Regions from separate parts of the Homo sapiens genome. Here all the other regions are linked to region 3. Evidence: promoter capture Hi-C in 16 types of primary human blood cells and fetal thymus (Javierre and others, 2016). All regions are on one chromosome and are shown on one strand. Each heading gives the region's core, a stretch centred on a gene start or on the middle of the fragment in contact. The rest is flanking DNA. Distances are from core to core; before and after follow the strand shown. Region 1 overlaps LOC105376289 (a long non-coding RNA gene). Region 2 has its middle 21 kb from the start of IER5L. Region 3 holds the start of ASB6 (ankyrin repeat and SOCS box containing 6). Region 4 overlaps PTPA (protein phosphatase 2 phosphatase activator).

The links. Contacts are between HindIII fragments. The CHiCAGO score rates a contact against its expected background, and 5 or more counts as called.
Region 1: a contact is called between a fragment that was not itself captured here and the fragment with the promoter of ASB6 in region 3, in 2 of 17 cell types (neutrophils and monocytes). The highest score is 8.0, in neutrophils.
Region 2: a contact is called between a fragment that was not itself captured here and the fragment with the promoter of ASB6 in region 3, in 7 of 17 cell types (neutrophils, total CD8 T cells, naive CD4 T cells and 4 more). The highest score is 9.9, in neutrophils.
Region 4: a contact is called between a fragment that was not itself captured here and the fragment with the promoter of ASB6 in region 3, in 15 of 17 cell types (activated CD4 T cells, naive CD4 T cells, total CD8 T cells and 12 more). The highest score is 14.9, in activated CD4 T cells.

Annotation. Positions count from the first base shown.
Region 1 is chr9:129,206,499-129,210,518 of GRCh38, reverse strand. LOC105376289 (a long non-coding RNA gene) reads right to left here. Exons shown (of 2, transcript XR_007061813.1): 2 at 812-1,650. Among named protein-coding and RNA genes, the nearest start is that of IER5L-AS1, 28 kb to the left of the region's middle. The HindIII fragment of the contact is 2,024 bases long and covers 1,124-3,147 here.
Region 2 is chr9:129,155,504-129,159,608 of GRCh38, reverse strand. No RefSeq gene overlaps it. Among named protein-coding and RNA genes, the nearest start is that of IER5L, 21 kb to the left of the region's middle. The HindIII fragment of the contact is 1,790 bases long and covers 1,279-3,068 here.
Region 3 is chr9:129,638,917-129,643,571 of GRCh38, reverse strand. ASB6 (ankyrin repeat and SOCS box containing 6) reads left to right here and starts at 1,421. Exons shown (of 6, transcript NM_017873.4): 1 at 1,421-1,685; 2 at 2,850-3,031; 3 at 4,064-4,170; 4 at 4,262-4,370. The coding sequence starts at 1,573. RefSeq lists a silencer at 1,055-1,654 and enhancers at 2,361-2,917, 2,918-3,475. The HindIII fragment of the contact is 16,646 bases long and covers 1-4,655 here.
Region 4 is chr9:129,130,210-129,134,685 of GRCh38, reverse strand. It overlaps PTPA (protein phosphatase 2 phosphatase activator), which reads right to left. Exons shown (of 10, transcript NM_178000.3): 5 at 3,047-3,164. Among named protein-coding and RNA genes, the nearest start is that of PTPA, 21 kb to the right of the region's middle. RefSeq lists enhancers at 1,008-1,508, 2,602-3,156 and a silencer at 2,709-2,910. The HindIII fragment of the contact is 1,465 bases long and covers 1,225-2,689 here.

The sequences.
Region 1 (4,020 bases), core at 886-3,385, 430 kb after region 3:
TATCCACATTGTGCCTCTATCACCACCATCATCTCCAGAACATTTTTCATCTTGTAAAACTGAAAATCTGTCCCCATTAAACTCTAACTCCCCATTCCCCCTTCTCCCCAGCTCCTGGCACTCCCCATCCTACTGTCTCTATGAATTTGACTACTCTAAACACCTCACATGGGTGGTCTTGCTTTGTGGCCCAGGCTGGTATTGAGCAATCCTCAAGCAATCCTCCGTCCTTGGCCTCCCAAAGTGCTGAGATTACAGGCATTAGCCACAGCACCTGGCTAATATTTGTCCTTTTTTGATGGGCTTATTTCACTCAGGTACTCAAGGTTCACCCAAGTCGTAGCATGTGTCAGAATGTCCTTCCTTTTTTAAGGGTGAATCGTGGCCGGGCGCCGTGGCTCACGCCTGTAATCCCAGCACTTTGAGAGGCCGAAGAGGGAGGATCACTTGAGGTCAGGAGTTCGACACCAGCCCCTGGCCAACATGGTGAAACCCTGTCTCTGCTAAAAATATAAAAATTAGCCAGGTGTGGTGGTACATGCCTGTAATCCCAGCTACTCAGGAGGCTGAAGCAGGAGAATCACTTGAACCCGGGAGACAGAGGTTGCAGCAAGCTGAGGTCGTGCCACTGCACTCCAGCCTGGGTGACAGAGCCAGACTCCGTCTCAAAAAAAAAAGGCTGAATCGCATTCCATTGTATGGCTGGGGCACATTCTGTTTACTCGTTCACCCATCAGCAGACACGTGGGATGCTTCCACCCTTTGACTACTGTGAATAACACTGCTATGAAAACAGGTGTACAAATACCTGTTTTCCAGCCTGACATTCCTGCATTTATTCACTCATGCAACATTCAAATAGAATACATTGAGCACCTACTGTGCACTAGGCTCCGGGCTAGGTTCTGTGGACTCCATAGTGTGAGCCAGAGGGACAGGCCCTGCCTCGTGGAGCCACTTGTCCCTTGGGATCTGAAGGTCATGGAGACTTCGGGGCACAGGGACAGGGTATTTGGGGTACTGCCTGTGTCTGGCAGGGTGCAGGCCAGAAGAGGATAGTGCTGGCCAAGATGTAGCAAGTTCACCAGCCAAGCAGTGGGCAACGGCAGAGCCACCCCAAGCTTCCCCATCAATGTCATTGTCCTGCACCCATCCAGAAAGCCAGCTGCCCATCCCCCCCATTCCTCCCTCTCTGCAGCCCTCCTCTGAGTCCGGAAATCCAATCAGCTTCCTCAACCCAGCAAGACTCAGGGAGTCCCCTCTCTTTCAACAAGATATTCACCTGCAGGCAAACTTGGAGGTGAGCTGGGTGTCTCTTTTTCTTCGTTTTTTCCAACCAGTGCCCAGGAAATGAGGGTGGCTCTTGAAGGGCAATGGCTTCTCTTCAGAGCCCAGGGACGCTGGGGCAGTGGCTACATCCACTCTCTGCAGGTCCCTGTGTGCGGAGGCTGAGCTGGCCGTAGGGAGACGCAAATGGTCAAGTCCCGAGTTATGCACTCAAGCGGTTCAAGTCTAGTTGGAGAGCCAGACGCACACTCCATAAAACTGCAACAAGGGAAGTGCCACGATGGGGAGTGCGGTGATGGGGAGTGCAGGTATCCAAAGGGCACAAGCCCCACTTCCTGGAGGGAGAGACACCTGAGCCGGCTCCTAGAGAGTAAGAAAGAAATGCTGAAAGGGGTGTGGCTCCCAGGGACTCAGGGGGAGGGTGGCCATGGTTCCGCAGGAGGCTGGGCTCCAGAGAAGAGGCTGAGAGGCAGGCCGGACAGGAGAAGGTAGAGCCTGCAGGCCAAGGGGAAGGGTCTGAACTTTACCCAAGGGCAATAGGGAGCCATTCCAGGCCGTTCAGCAACAGAGAGGCCTGGGCAGATGTACCCTCAAATGTTCCATCACAGGGGCGGCTGTGGGGAAGACAGGAAGTGGGAGGGGCCAGGCTGGAGGAGAGCAGGGGGTGGGAGGGTCCCACAGCGATCAACGTGACAGACTCCAAGCTGATCCTGGGAGCCTACAGGGCAAGCCTCTTTCTATGGCCCCCAGCAATGGAAACTCCAGAACTCTCCAGGGCTGCTTCTGTGGCCTCCACCTCAACCTCCTCCAAGGCGTGGCCAGAGATGCAGAGCTGCAAAAGGGCCTGTGTGGGCCTGAGCAGTTAAGAACTTGGAGTCAAGCCCGGCAAGGTGGTTCACGCCTATAATCCCAGCACTTTGAGAGGCTGAGGTGGGAGGATTGTTTGAGTCCAGGAGTTCGAGATCAGCCTGGGCAACAAAGTGAGGCCTCATCGCTAACAAAAAAAAAAAAAGTCGGGCATGGAGCCGCATGCCCATAGTCCCAGATGTTCTGAAAGCTGAAGTGGAAGGATCACTTGAGTTCAGAGGTCAAGGCTGCAGTGAGCTATGATCACACCACTGCACTCCCCTCCAGCCTGGGTGACAGAGACCCTGTCTCTAAAAAATAATTAACTTAATTTTTTTCAAAAAAGAACTTGGGGTCAAAGTCAGAGAGACTTGCTGGGCCACATGCGTGTTTGCAAAACCTTGAGAAGGCCGCCACCTCTCTGAGTCTCCATCTCCTCCTCACCTGCAAAATGAAGATAGTACCCATGAATCCCCTCAAGGGAGGTGGAGAGAATTAATGAGAAAATAAACATCAAGTGCTAGCGTGGTGCTTCTCAACAGATGTTGGTTCTTTATGACCAGTAGTGGCAGTGAGCAGGTATGACTATTATATAGACCCAACCGTTTATAAAATCCCAACCCCTCCACCCCAGGCAGCCGGGTTCCAGTGTTCCTGGTCTTTTCTACCTGTCTTTTTGATGCCTTCTGCTCTGAAAGATCCCCTCCCAGACTCCCAAACTAGTAAAATCCTGCCTATGCCTCCAAGGCCACCCCAGAGATCACCTCCTCCACAAAGCCTGCCTGGATTCCCCTTCCCCACAACACAAAGACTCTCACAGCCACAGCCACCAGGGCTCACCTCTGCAGCAGCTCCTAGTGTCCCATGCTCTAAAAGGCTCGTCACTTTGTCACCTGTCCCTTCAAACGGAGGGCTGGGGCCAGGCCCCAGAACAGGGGCTGGTACGGAGCAGGTGTTCAGTAAATATGGGATGGATAGGTAGACAGAAGGACAGACATATGGGTGAAATAAGCTTTCTGCATTCATCAGAACTAGTCGCAAGGACAGAAAGCCAACTCAAATTGTCCTAAGCCAAAAGGGATAGACCGTGTCAGGCAAGGCTGGATCCGGGTTGATATAGTGTGGATCTGTGTCCCCACCCAAATTTCCCGTTGAATTGTCAACCCCAATGATGGCGGTGGGGCCTGGTGGGAGGTGGCTGGATCGTGGGGATGGGTTTCTCATGAGTGGTTTAGCACCGTCCTCTTAGTGCTGTTCTTGTGATACTGAGTGAGTTCTCATGAGATGTGGTTGTTTAGAAGTGTGTGGCACCTCCCCTCTCTCTCTCTCTCTTGCTCCTTTTCTGGCCATGTGACATGGCTGCTTCCCCTTCACCTTCCGCCATGATTGTAAGTTTCTCCAGAAGCCAAGCAGATGCCAGCACTATGCTTTCTGTACAGCCTACAGAACTGTGCACCAATTAAACCTCTTTTCTTCATGAGTTACCCAGTCTCAGGTATTTCTTTACAGCAATGTGAGAACGGACTAATACACAGGTGTTCAAACAATGTCTCCCTCCCGCCATCCCCTGTCAATTTCTCAGCTCTGCTGTCTAGTGTTGGCTTCATCTTGCGCAGGCTGCCCACACAGTTGACCCTGGCAATTCCAACCTTGTATCCTACCAGCCTAGGCTCCCTGGCAAAAAGAGAGCTTCCCTTCCCCTTTCTTTGCTCCCAGGTCCCAGGCCTGCATCTCACTGGCCTGCCTTGGGTCACATGACTGCATGCTCACCATGTGCTGATTGGCCAGCCTGGGATGACAGGTGTGCTCCTGAAGGACAGGGGACCACTTCAAAAAGGGACCTGAGGGTGACTGAGAGGGTGGGGTGCTGGGCAGGTAAACACAGCC
Region 2 (4,105 bases), core at 924-3,423, 480 kb after region 3:
TCCCACTTAGCCTCTCCCTTGCTGCTCTGCCTCTCCAACCTTGGGAATGTCCCACGGACTTCACCTGCCTGAGGCCAAGTCCATGCAGTCTGCCCGTTTCCATCAAGGGTGCTGCCCAAACTTGGGAGTGAGCTGCAGAAGCACAAACCCTCAGAGTTTGGGACACTGGGAAGCTGTCCTGCCCGCAGGGCCCTCCACGGGACCCCCAGAGCTCCTGCATTGGAGTAAGGGGAGAGCAACTTTGCAGCCAAGGCCCTGGTCAGCACCTGTTGTTCAGCTTCTTCTAGGATAACACCAGGGACAGAGGACTTACTTTTTTATTCATTCATTCATTCATTCATTCATGGTTCAGCAGGTAGTAACTGGGCATCCACGTAGTCTGGGCCAGCCCCTACTCCTGGTGCTGGGGGCCCAGTGTTGGCCACAGTAAGCCTGTGCCCTCCCTCACTGGGCTTACCATCCACTGAGAGGGAGATGATCACCAAGTGAACAAGTTCATAGATAATAAAACTTGAGATGAAACTGGGCTCATGAAGGCAACTGGAACAGAGGGCGGATGGAGGCTCAAGTTAGGAGCAACTCAGAGAAAGCTGGAGTGTGGCCGGGCACAATGGCTCATGCCTGTAATCCCAGCACTTTGGGAGGCCGAGGCAGGTGGATCACGAGGTCAGGAGATCAAGACCATCCTGGCTAACACAGTGAAACCTCGTTTCTACTAAAAATACAAAAAATTAACCGGGCGTGGTGGTGGGTGCCTGTAGTCCCTGCTACTCGGGAGGCTGAGGCAGGAGAATGGTGTGAACCTGGAAGGCGGAGCTTGTAGTGAGCCGAGATCGCGCCACTGCACTCCAGCCTGGGGGACAGAGCGAGACTCCATCTCAAAAAAAAAAAAGAAAAAAAAGAAAGCTGGGACGCCTCTCTCGGGAGGTGGCATCTGAACTGGGCCCTGAACAACCAGAGGGTGCCTCTGCTCAGCCTGGGCTCAAGCAGTGCAAGCCAAGGAAACAGCAAGTGCCAAGGCCCTGGGGCAGCAACAAGTTTGACATTTTGGAGGACCAGGCAGGGCATGGTGGCTCACACCTGTAATCCCAGCACTTTGAGAGGCCAAGGCGGGCAGATCACAAGGTCAGGAGATCGAGACCATCCTGGCTAACACGGTGAAACCCCGTCTCTACTAAAAATACAAAAAAATTAGCCGGGTGTGGTGGCGGACGCCTGTAGTCCCAGCTACTCGGGAGGCTGAGGCAGGAGAATGGTGTGAACCCGGGAGGCGAAGCTTGCAGTGAGCCGAGATCGCGCCACTGCACTCCAGCCTGGGTGACAGAGCGAGACTCTGTCTCAAAAACAAACAAAAAAAAGACATTCTGGAGGACCAGAGAGAGGGCAACATGACTGAAGTACGGGAGTGGGCGAGTGGGGCGGGGGCACAGTGGCTCATCACCTCGTGGGGCCTTCTGTGCACAGTCAGGAGCCACCCTTCAAGTAGGGATCTGATGGGAGTGACCTTCAAGCACCTCAGGGTAGAATCACCTTTAAGCACCTCAGGGTAGAGCCCAGGGACAGTGGCAGAGTGGAGTCAGGAGAGCAGAGAGGAGATGCTGCTGGCCAGCGCTCCTGGGAGAGCTGACCGTGCTCCCTGGCTGCGGGCAGATTTGGGTTACAATTTGGAGGGAGACCCAATAGGACCTGCTCATGGGTTGGATTTGAGAGGTAGAGGAAAAGAAAGGAATTCAGGATAACACCTGCACCAGGTATGGTAGCTCATACCTGTAATAATCCCAGCACTTTGAGAGGCCGAGGCACGAGGATCACTTGTGCTCAGGAGTTTGAGACCAGCCTGGGCAACATAGGGAAACCCTGTCTCTACAGAAAAAAAGTTTCTTAAATTTAGCTGGGCATAATGGTGCACACCTGTAGTCCCAGGTGTGGACCCAGGAGAGTAAACTCTCAAGCAATAGAGGGTAAACGAGGCCAAGGCTGCAGTGAGCTATGATTGTGCCACTGCACCAGCCTGGACGACAGAGCAAGACTCTGTCTCAAAAAATAAAAATAAAAAAGATAACACCTGGGCCAGGCACGGTGACTCACTCCTATAATCTCAGGACTTTGGGATGCTGAGGCAGGTGGATCACTTGAGGCCAGGAGTTGGAGACCAGCCTGGCCAACATGGTGAAACCCGGTCTCTACTAAAAATACAAAATTAGCCAGGCGTGGTGGTGCAGGCCTATAATCCTAGCTACTAGGGAGGCTGAGCCAGGAGAATCACTTGAACCTGGGAGGCAAAGTTTGCAGTGAGCTGAAATCGAGCCACTGCACTCCAGCCTGGGTGACAGAGCAAGATCCTGTCTCAAAAAATAAAAAGGATGACGCCTGGATTTGGGGCCTGATGGCTGTCCGCAGAGACAGACTGCCTTGGGGAGAACAAGGAGCCACGTGGCCATAGCCAATCTTTCCCTTGCCCAGCTCCGGGTACCCCACCATGCTGGCCTTTGTAGGACCTGGTGTCAGACAAACCTGGGCACCACCCTGAACCCACTTGGACAAGCTGGAGGCCCTGGGACGCCACTAAGATCTGAGCCCCACCACCAAAAGCCCTTGACTGGGAATGTGATGCCACCTTCTCGGCTCACTGTGGGGACTCCACGAGGTGACACATAAAGCACAATCTGCACACACCAAGAGGCACGCTACCAGCCAGAGAGTCATTGCTGTCATGCGTCTTCGTCATCTTTGTGCAAATCGGCCCTGCCTCCAAAAAGAAACTGGGCCCTTGGAAGAGGTGCCTCTCAGAGAAGCCCAGGGTCTGGGGCCAGTCCTGGAGAGATGGGTGCAGGAGCAGGAGGAAGAGGAGGAGGAGGGGGAGGGGGTAGAGTGAAGTGGAGTGGAGGAGGGCTCTCAGGCCACCACAGTGGGGACAGGCAGCACACGGCAGCCCATGCCACCCGAGCCCTCAGGTCAGGCCCCGTGGAGAGGCTGCAGGAGCACGAGCTTTGGCGGGAAAGAGACCCCAGACCCTTCTGTGAAATGAGGACATCAGCGCCCATTGTGAGGATGAGGCAAGAGAAGCTTCGAAGCACTTAGCTCAGGGCCAGACACATAGGCCGCATGCAGGAGCCACAAGCTCCAGGCTCGCTGCGGGAACCCCCAGACATCAGGGGGCAGACAGCTGCTGGGGCCTGGAGCAGCAGTGGCAACTGAGACATGGGGACCAGGAATTTGCATGGAGTAGGGCAGGAGCCACTCCTGAAGGAATGGCCAGGCCACCACAGTCCGGGCAGAAGCCAGGCCTGGGGCCAGTAGCCAGCAAGGGAACGACCGCCCCAGCTCCAGACACCCAGCACACCTCCCAGCCTTGCTGCCGGAGCCCTCATCCTGCCTTCAAGGAAGGCTCTCCACCCTGTCCACGACATTCCCACAGCTCCCCACATGCCCCGTGTCCTCCTTAAACCTCCATGAGGGACGGAACCGCATCTGCCTCCTCCATGGTCCTTGGGGTCTCCTTGGAGCCTGGCAGAGCAAGTGCTCAGTAAACGTTCGTGGGACAGATTCACAGCCATTATTGGGCTCAGTGGGTAGAAATGTCCACACTGAGCTGGGCACAGTGGCTCATGCCTGTAATCCCAGCACTTTGGGAGGCCAAGGTGGGTGGATCACCTGAGGTTAGGAGTTCGAGACCAGCCTGGCCAACATGGTGAAACCCCGTCTCTACTAAAAATACAAAATTAGCCGGGTGTGGTGGTGCACACCAGTAATCTTGGCTACTTGGGAGGCTAAAGCAGGAGAATCGCTTGAATCCAGGAGTTGGGGGTTGCAGTGAGCAGAGATGGCACCACTGCACTCCAGCCTGGATGACACAGCAAGACTCTTGTCTCAAAGAAAAAAAAAAGAAAGAAAGAAAGAAAGAAATGTCCACGCTGGAGCCTGATGGCCCAGGTTTGAAACCCACTTACCACCAAGGAATTCCCCCATGGCTCGGTTGCCACATGCCCACCTCGCAGGGTGGCCTGCGGAGATTCAATGAGACGGTGCCAGCAAAGCCCTGGGCTGTGTCCGTTCGGTGTCTGGTACATCCACCCTGTAAGGCCATGTTTACTTACCTTGTTTA
Region 3 (4,655 bases), core at 172-2,671:
CACTTCCACCAACAATTACAGTGCGCTGGCTCCAGCATCTCAGGTGAGTGTGATTATACTTTTTTTTTTTCTTTTTGAGACAGAGTTTCGTTCTTATTGCCCAGGCTGGAGTGTGATGGTGCGATCTCCACTCACTGCAACCTCCGCCTCCCGGGTTCAAGCAATTCTCCTGCCTCAGCCTCCCAAGTAGCTGGGATTACAGGCGCCTGCCACCACGCCCGGGTAATTTTTGTATTTTTAGTAGAGACAGGGTTTCATCATATTGGCCAGGCCGGTCTGCAGCTTCGAACTTCTGACCTCAGGTGATCCACCTGCCTCGGCCTCTCAAAGTGCTGGGGATTCTACCCATTTTACAGATGAGGAAATCCAAGTTCAGAGACAGGCGGTAGCACACTCCTGTGTTCCCAGCTTCTCGGGAGGCTGAGGCGGGAGGATCACCTGAGCCCAGGGGTTCAAAGCTGCAGTGAGTCATGATCACTACACTACACTCCAGCCTGGGAGACAGAGTGAGACCCTGTCTCTAAAAAATACACAAGATTCGGGCTGGGCACCGTGGCTCATGCCTGTAATCCCAGCACTTTGGGAGGCCGAGGTGGGAGGATCACGAGGTCAGGAGTTCGAGACCAGCCTGGCCAATATGGTGAAACCCTGTCTCTACTAAAAATACAAGAATAAGCTGGGCGTGGTGGCCAGCGCCTGTAATCCCAGCTACTCGGGAGGCTGAGGCAGGAGAATCGCTTGAACCCGGGAGGCGGAGGTTGCAGTGAGCCGAGATCGTGCCATTGCACTCCAGCCTGGGCAACAGAGCGAGACTACGTCCCCCAAAAAAACAAAAACAACAACAACAAAAAACAAGATTCACTGAGTCCATCAAGGCAGAGGTGGAGAGGGCTAGCAGCCGTCCTGGCCAGGTGCTCCCCGGGACAGAGAATAAGAAACTGAGGAGGGGACGTGCGAGTACCCTGGTCCTCATCATTCCAGTCAGCGGGCCGGGTGGTGACAGAGGTGGCCCAGCCCCTCTTCAGGGAAGGCGAGGGCCAGCCCGAACCGGAAGGGGCAGTGTCTGATGACCACAGCTCTCAGGGGCGCCCAGGGCCAGTGGGGCAGCGGCAGGGCCGAGAGCACGACCGGCGGAACTCGGACGGCGCCCAGCGGTCGCGGGCGGGATCGCAGGGCGAAGCCGAGCCGGGCCGGGCCCTGGCAGGAAGGGGCGGACCCGCCTGAGTCTCGGATCTGGCTTGGCTCGATCCTCCACTCTCCCACTCCGCTGGGGCCGCCCACTGGACATCGCCCGAGTCGGCCTGGCGGTCGTGCCCCAGGACGCGCCGAGGTCCTCCGAGCCCGCAGGGGGCGCTGTCGCCATATGGCCCACCCTGAGTCGGCGCGGGCAGGAAGTACGAGGGTCACTTCCGGCGGGGGCGCGGCTTGGACTGAGGAGCGGACCCGGCCGGGCGCAGGGGCTGGACTGGCGGAGCAGGTGGGGTCCGCGGCCGCCGGAGCGTTCCGGTCGGCGTCTGGGCATCTCGGCCTCGGCAGAAAGCGCGACGGCCCTGCTGCGCGGGGCCCGCGGCGATGCCGTTCCTGCACGGCTTCCGGAGGATCATCTTCGAGTACCAGCCGCTGGTGGATGCGATTCTGGGCTCCCTGGGGATCCAGGACCCCGAGCGGCAGGAGTCTCTGGACCGGTAACTCACCCCCTCCCGTGAGCTGGCCGAGGCCGCTCCGACCCCGCAGCGTCCCACTTTATCACCACAAGCCGGGCGGGGTGGATGCGTCCCCCTTGACAGAGGAAGGGACGGGCGGAAGCCGGGGTTGCGTGGCTCGGAGTGCGCGCTGCCCCGCGCGGATCCCACTCCTGCCCCTTGCATGGCGGAGACGAAGGGCGGGGAGGGCCCGAGGGCGGAGGCCCGCGGGTTGTCGCAGGGCCTGCGCCTCAGCCCCACCCTGTCGCCTGCCTGTCCTGTGCCACCCCCCGGCGTGGCAGAGGAGCAGGGTGGAATCCGTGAGGCCTCAGATGTTACCCCAGAGCAGTGTGAAGGTGGGCTTTTGTAGCAGAGTTTGCGTTTTTATAGACAAGAGCTGGTCTGTCGTGGACCTGCAGGAAAGGGGTCGGGAGCGAATCTGCATTCACTGCCCATGGTACTAGGCACCTGGGGTCCATCAGTGGCTCAGCAAAACCCCCGCCTTCTTGGCGCATGTGCTCCAGAGGAGAGACTGACAAGTAATTGTACGGCGGCACGCGAGGTGGAAGGGAGGGGAGAGCAGAAGGAAGGGGCTCGGCTCAGGTGTTGAGGGGGTTGTCAGTTGGTATTTCCAACACGTGGTAATGATGAGTCTCGCCATCCAGGGACTCTGGTGGAAACGTAGGCTTTCTTCATCAATATCAGCTGAAGGTCTCAATGTGAGGGGAGGGAGGAGGCTGTGTTGCTGTCCTGGCTGCAGGTGTTGCCGGGGCTGGGGTCCTGCGGGTTTGAGGATGGAAGGGCTTTCTGAGGAAGAAGCATCAAAGTCGGGCTTGGGCTCTTGGCCTCCAGGCTGGTGGTCCCTTCAGTCCCAGCAGCCCAGGTGTGTGAGGCTTTGTACCTAAGTCTGCGACCGGACTCTGGGCAACGCGGGAGGAGAGCGCAGACAGACCCAGCCCATTCTCCGCAAATCCCAGTCTGCTCCCGTATTAAGAGATGCAGCGTGGCCCTCTCTCTACTTCAGAGCTTCCCCCAAGCCCCTGTGACCCACAGAGCCAGGGCCCTGCTTGCTGATGATGATAGCAGGACTAAAGCCCACCAACCCACAGGCTGCGCGGTCACCCGGTCCCACAGCTGTGCCTACCCTCAGCCTCTCTCCTGTCCCAGGCCCAGTTATGTCGCCAGCGAGGAGAGCCGAATCCTTGTTCTCACTGAGCTGCTGGAGAGGAAAGCCCACTCTCCCTTTTACCAGGAAGGCGTGAGCAACGCCCTGCTCAAGATGGCTGAGCTGGGGCTGACGCGGGCGGCCGACGTTCTCTTGCGGCATGGGGCCAATCTCAACTTTGAAGGTCAGCGAGAGCCCCGGGGGTGGGCAGGTGGCTTAAACGCGGCCCGACGCTGGGTGGGCGCCCATGTCCCCAGCCTTGGCTTCTACCATCCTCTGAGGAGTGACTTCCCCCCCTTTATTTCCTGGGTGGCTGCAACTAAGGAAACTCCCATTGGGTGGCCTCCCACCCCCTGCGGGTTTTCACATGGCTCTTCCCACCTCTGTTCCAAGAGCGAGTGTTGCTGCTTCTACCATGTGATTGATTAGCAAACTTTCCCCAGCTCCCAGATTAATCCCCACTTCCATTAATGCAAAAATGCGGCTGCTGGCACTGTGCCCAGAGCTAAGGGAAGGTAATTTTCTGCTACTTACTCTGAGCCAATTTGTTTTTTTTTTTCTCATGCCGTAGGGAGAGGGGAAAACAGGCTGCATTAGGCATAAATCACCACAGGACACCCTGGCTCCTGGCTCCTGAGTGCCAGGGATGGAGATGGAGCCGAGCTCCTTTCTCTGTGTTTTTCAGCCCAGGGAGGGCAGGGTTAGTCGGCAGACAGGCAGGGCTGCCTTGTGACCTAATAGGGGCCTGAGACAGCCAGGCACGTCTCCTTTCCCCATCCGAAGACGGGCTTGGAGTCTGCTGGGCTCCTGGAGGGTCAAGGAGCTGAGACGGGAGGGCCGGTTCTGAAGCCAGTGACTTGGAGACCAGCTTGGAGAACCTGGCTGTTACCACCAGGCCTACAAAGCAGAGCCGCCAGAGCTGCTGTGTAGCGCGGCCTCCCAGCCATTCTGAGAGGGTGCGCCCCGTTTTATGGTCCCTTCTTACAGAAGAGGAAACTAAAGCCCCCAACAGCTTCAGTAGCGTGCCCACTAGAACACCCCGAGGGCCCTCTAGTATCTGGTGAGGACAGCTCTGTCCTAACCCTTGATGGTGACAGGAGGCTGGGCCTGTGCTTCTGGACACTTTAGGTGGGAGTTTGGGGCTGGGCTCTGGGTCCGGGGGCCCCATAAGAATGCGGACAGATAGGACCCACATGAGCTGTGTCTGCACCTTCAGACCCAGTCACCTACTACACGGCCTTGCACATCGCCGTCCTGCGGAACCAGCCGGACATGGTGGAGCTGCTGGTGCATCACGGGGCCGACGTTAATCGGAGGGACCGGGTAAGTGCCAGGTCCAGCTTGCTTTGAAGCAGGGTTGGGCAGGGGCCTGAGCAGCTTCCCAAGCCAACCTGGCTGTGCTTCCTTGGCTCAGATCCACGAGAGTAGCCCCTTGGACCTGGCCAGCGAGGAGCCTGAGCGCCTGCCCTGCCTGCAGCGCCTCCTGGACCTTGGAGCTGATGTCAATGCCGCTGACAAGCATGGTGGGTGCCTCCTGCAGGAAAGCAGGACAGCTGGGCCCCCAGGCACCTTGTGGGGGACACCCAGGGTGCCCCAGGACAACAGCTAGGTGGGCAGACTGGATGCTGGCCCTGGCTGGTGGCACAGCATGGCTGGGCACACAGGGATTCTGCTGACTTGCTGAGCTCAGAGGCTTCAGAGAGGCAGTGCAGTCATTGTCCCTGTGCTGGCCCTCAAGGGCCTTCTATAGGAAGAAATAGGGCATGTGTGCACTTAGTTTCCAAGAAACAATGGCTTCCCATTGGGAG
Region 4 (4,476 bases), core at 708-3,207, 510 kb after region 3:
CAACATGGAGACAATGAGACCTCTTCCCCATTCAGAAAGACTTGCTAGGCCCTTTCCTTTCAAGAACTATAATACCAGTACTGGCCGTGCATGGTGGCTCATGCCTGTAATCCCAGCACTTCAGGAGGCTGAGGCAGGCAGCTTGCTTGAGCTCAGGAGTTTGAGATCAGCCTGGCCAACATGGCAAAACCCTGTCTCTACAAAAAATACAAAAATTAGCCAGACATGGTGGCATGTGCCTGTGGTCCCAACTACTCAGGAGGCTGAGATGGAGGATCTCCTGAGCCCAGGAGGTTGAGGCTGCAGTGAGCCATGATAAGGCCACTGCACTCCAGCCTGGGTGACAAAGTGAGACTGTCTCAAAAAAAAAAAAAAAAAAAAAAAAAAAAGAACTACCAGTACTATAATTCCACTCGTAAAAGACCCGGGCTGGACATTTACATTTCATTACGTAGGTTTAACTCACTCAGCAATTCCACCATATTTACTGAGCACCTACTATGTAAGCAGTCACTGTCCATGTTACGCACTAGGAGACAGTGACAAGTAAGTCCTTGCCCTCAGAAAGTTTATGATCTATCAGGGACAACAGACATTATAAATATACAGTCACTACTATGATTCCAGCTCTGAAGGAGAAAGACAGGGTACTAACTGGAGGATATCACAGAAGGACCCTGACGTAAGGGTTCAAGGTTTCCCCTAAGGAAGTAACATCTAATCTGAAATCTGAAAGATGTGAGCTGGCAAGGCAAAGGGAGTGAGGGAAGCAAGAAATGCATTCTAGCCAGAAGGAATAGCATGTGCACAGGCCTTGAGGCAAGAAAAAGTTTGATCTGTTTGAGGAACACTAAGGAGGCCAGTATGTCGAAGGCAGTGAGAGCAAGGGAGAACGTGTAATGACAGGAGGCTACAGGTCACATGGGCCTTTTGGCCATAGGAAAGAGCTCAGACTTTACCCTAAGAGCAATAGGGAGCCACTGCAGGCTTCTAAGCAGGGAACACATGATCAGATTACAGGGTGAAAAAGTATCCTCCTTCCTTTCCCAGTCATATCAAACAGGAATGGTCTGCACTGTAGGAACAACTCACTGGACTGTGATTGAATCCCATTGTTCACAATGTCACACAAAACCTATCTGGAGGGAGGTGAGAAGAGAATGTGTCAGAGAATACTTCTGTCCTGTCTCTGGAGGACGAAGACCCCTCCAGGGCCTGGAAGCTTGTGAGCTCAGTTTCCTTCCCCTGCCACAGTTTCCAATTATGACCAGACAGGGCCCAGGCTCCCATTGTTCAGGGGTTCACATGCAGCTGGGGCACCAACCCCTGCTGACCTGGCCAGTCTTCCCTCTTTGATCTTTTCCTGCTGGTCTTAGTCAAAGCCCCACCCGGTCCAAGAGGGCCCTTCTCCAGGGCCTGCCTCTGTGGCTGGGGCTCCCTCCTGTGGATCACATTCCCCAGACAAGGGGAGGGCTGAGCGGTGCCCCATCTGCCTGCCTCAGGGAAGGAAGGCGGGCCCTCACCAAAGCAGAGGTCCTCCTTAGCTGCACAGGCCAGGCCCTGACCTAGAGAACGCCTCCCTTCTCTATTTTTGAGAGATGGGGTCTCAGCATGGTGGCTCGACAGGCCGTGCCCTGACACAGAGAATGCCTCCCTTCTATATTTTTGAGAGATGGGGTCTCAGCATGGTGGCTCCACAGGCCATGCCCTGACCTAGAGAACACCTCCCTTTTATATTTTTGAGAGATGGGGTCTCAGCATGGTGGCTTGCACCTGTAATCTGAGCACTTTGGGAGGCTGAGGTGGGAGAACAGCTTGAGCTCAGGAGTTCAAGACCAGCCCAGGCAACATGGCAAAACCCCATCTCTACAAAAAATACAAAACAATCAGCTGGGCGCAGTGGCTCACGCCTGTAATCCCAGTCCCAGCACTTTGGGAGGCCAAGGTGGGTGGAGAAGTGACCTCACCAGAGGTCAGGAGTTCGAGACCAGCCTGGCCAACATGGTGAAACCCTGTCTCTACCAAAAACACTAAAATTAGCCAGGTATGGTGGTGTGTGCCTATAGTCCCAGCAGAATAATCGCTTGAACCCAGGAGGTGGAGGTTGCAGTGAGCCAAGATCATGCCACTGCACTCCAGCCTGGGCAACAGAGTGAGACTCTGTCTCAAATAAATAAATAAATTGCCAGGCTGGTGGTGCACACCTGTAGTCCCAGGTACTGGGGAGTGGGGAGATGCAGAGGTGAGAGGATCACTTGGGCCCGGGAGGTCAAGGCTGCAGTGGGCCAAGATCACATCACTGCACTGCAGCCCGGGTGACAAAGCAAGACCCTGTCTCAAAAAAATAAATATATAAATAAAAATAACTTAAAATAAATTTTTAAAAAAGAGATGGAGTCTTGCTACGTTGCCTAGGCTGGTCTTAAACTCCTGAGCTCAGGCAATCCTCCCCCTCAGCCTCCAAAAGTGCTAGGATTACAGGCACGCACCACTGCACCTGTCTACACTTCCCTTTTAAAGTGTCCACACACTCCCTCTCCTCAAAGTCCAGGTCCCTTGGCTTACATGGACCACAGATCCAAACAGCCCAATAGCACAGAGAATGTGGCTAAGAGACAAGGGGTTCAAGGGAGAGGGTGTGCCACGACACTGCAAAGGCCACCAAGAAGCGTTCCCATTTCTCAAAGCTTCAGTAAGCTGCTGCCTTGACACACAGTAAGTGCTCAATTAATAATTATTTTGGTGATGATGAGGAGCTCAGAGACCATTTTCACAAGAACAGAAAGCAGCGCTGCGCAAGCACCATGCACGGGGCATCAGCTCCCCCTGGTGGACCACAGCAGAGCTGCAGCATCCGGGCCTCCCTGCATGCCTACGCCCTCCCTGCCGGTGAAGCCACCCTAACCCCAGCTGGCCCCAATAGGTTGCAGGTGCTTGGCGAATTCTTGATTGCTCTCACTTGCTCAGAGGGCCCAGAGACCACCTGAAGCCCAAAACAGAAAGCAGTGAAGCTAGATAAGTACAGAGCCCCACAAGCAGCAGATACCTGTGCCGTAGTCAATGCGCGTGGAGTTCCCCACTGACTCCTTTAGGTAAACAGCCACCTCAGGCACAGCAGCTGCCAGATGGGTAGGGACCACTGTGGCCACCAAGTTTTCTGCTTCCTGGTAACACAAGAGACACAAAGTGGTGGCAGCATATTAAGCAGCATCCCAGTGGGCAGGTGCCCAGGGGCAGCACCTGACTGGGGGCCCACACTGCCTTGCCAGGCCAGCTTGGTTCCTGTTCTGACAGGCCACAGAAGGAAGGGGAGGGACAGCATTTATTCTTCCACAGCAGAAGACTACCCAGGCGACTTATCATCAACTGATTTTTCCAGGGCACAGGAGTCTAGGGGCAAAACAGGAGGAATCTGGAAAAAAGCCTCAACCCTCCCATGTGGTAACTCACTGGAGCCCCACAGAGACTCTGGAAGGTCAGTGCTATGATTCCCACACAGGCCACCTTCCTTCACACTCTCAGGTCAGCAAGAGCTGGTGTCATGTGCCATCAAAAGACGTGCAGAAGAATGTTCACAACAGCACTGTTTAGAGTAGCCAAAAGGTGGAAATGCAATGGAAATGTCCATCAACAGTGAAATGAATAAATTGTGGTATATTCATACAATAGAATACTACACAGCAAAGAAAAAGACCTATAGCTAGACATGAAAACATGGATGAATCTCAGACATGACATTGAGCAAAAGAAGCCAGAGAGTTATACGAAGTTCAGAAACATGGAAAAAAATCAATTTATGGAATAGAAATCAGAATAATCTGGGCGATATCAATTGGGAAGGGGAGCACTCCAGCTAGAATGTTCTATTGCTTGACATGAGTGGTGAATCCATGGGTAAAAAACTTGGCATGAGTGGTGAGTCCATGAGTAAAAACATGTAAAAATCCATCAAGCTGTAAAGCTATGATTTGTCAGCTTTAAGATATAACTTAAGGCTGGGAGCAGTGGCTCACACCTGTAATTCCAACACTTTAGGAGGCCAAGGTGGGCGGATCACCTGAGGCCAGGATTTCGAGATCAGCCTGGCCAACATGATGAAACCCCGTCTCTACTAAAAACACAAAAATTAGCCAAGCATGGTGGCGCATGCTGTAGTCCCAGCAACTTGGGAGGCTGAGGCAGGACGATTGCTTGAGCCCAGGAGGTCAAGGCTGCAGGGAGCTGAGATCATGCCACTGCACTCCAGCCTGAACAACAGGAAAAAAAAAAAAAAAAGATCATGTACCATCTTAAGAGTCCAGAGGCAGGCCCGGGCGTCTCTTGGGAACAGCACTTCACTGGGTCCTGAGTCCTCCCCTCTGCTCTATGTGAAAATATTGGGCCAGAGCAATTAGGACCCAAATTTCCTTAAGCTCAGTTGTAGACAACTGGCATGAGCCATCTCCTGGAAAGCTAGTAAAAATCCAGGTTCCCAGT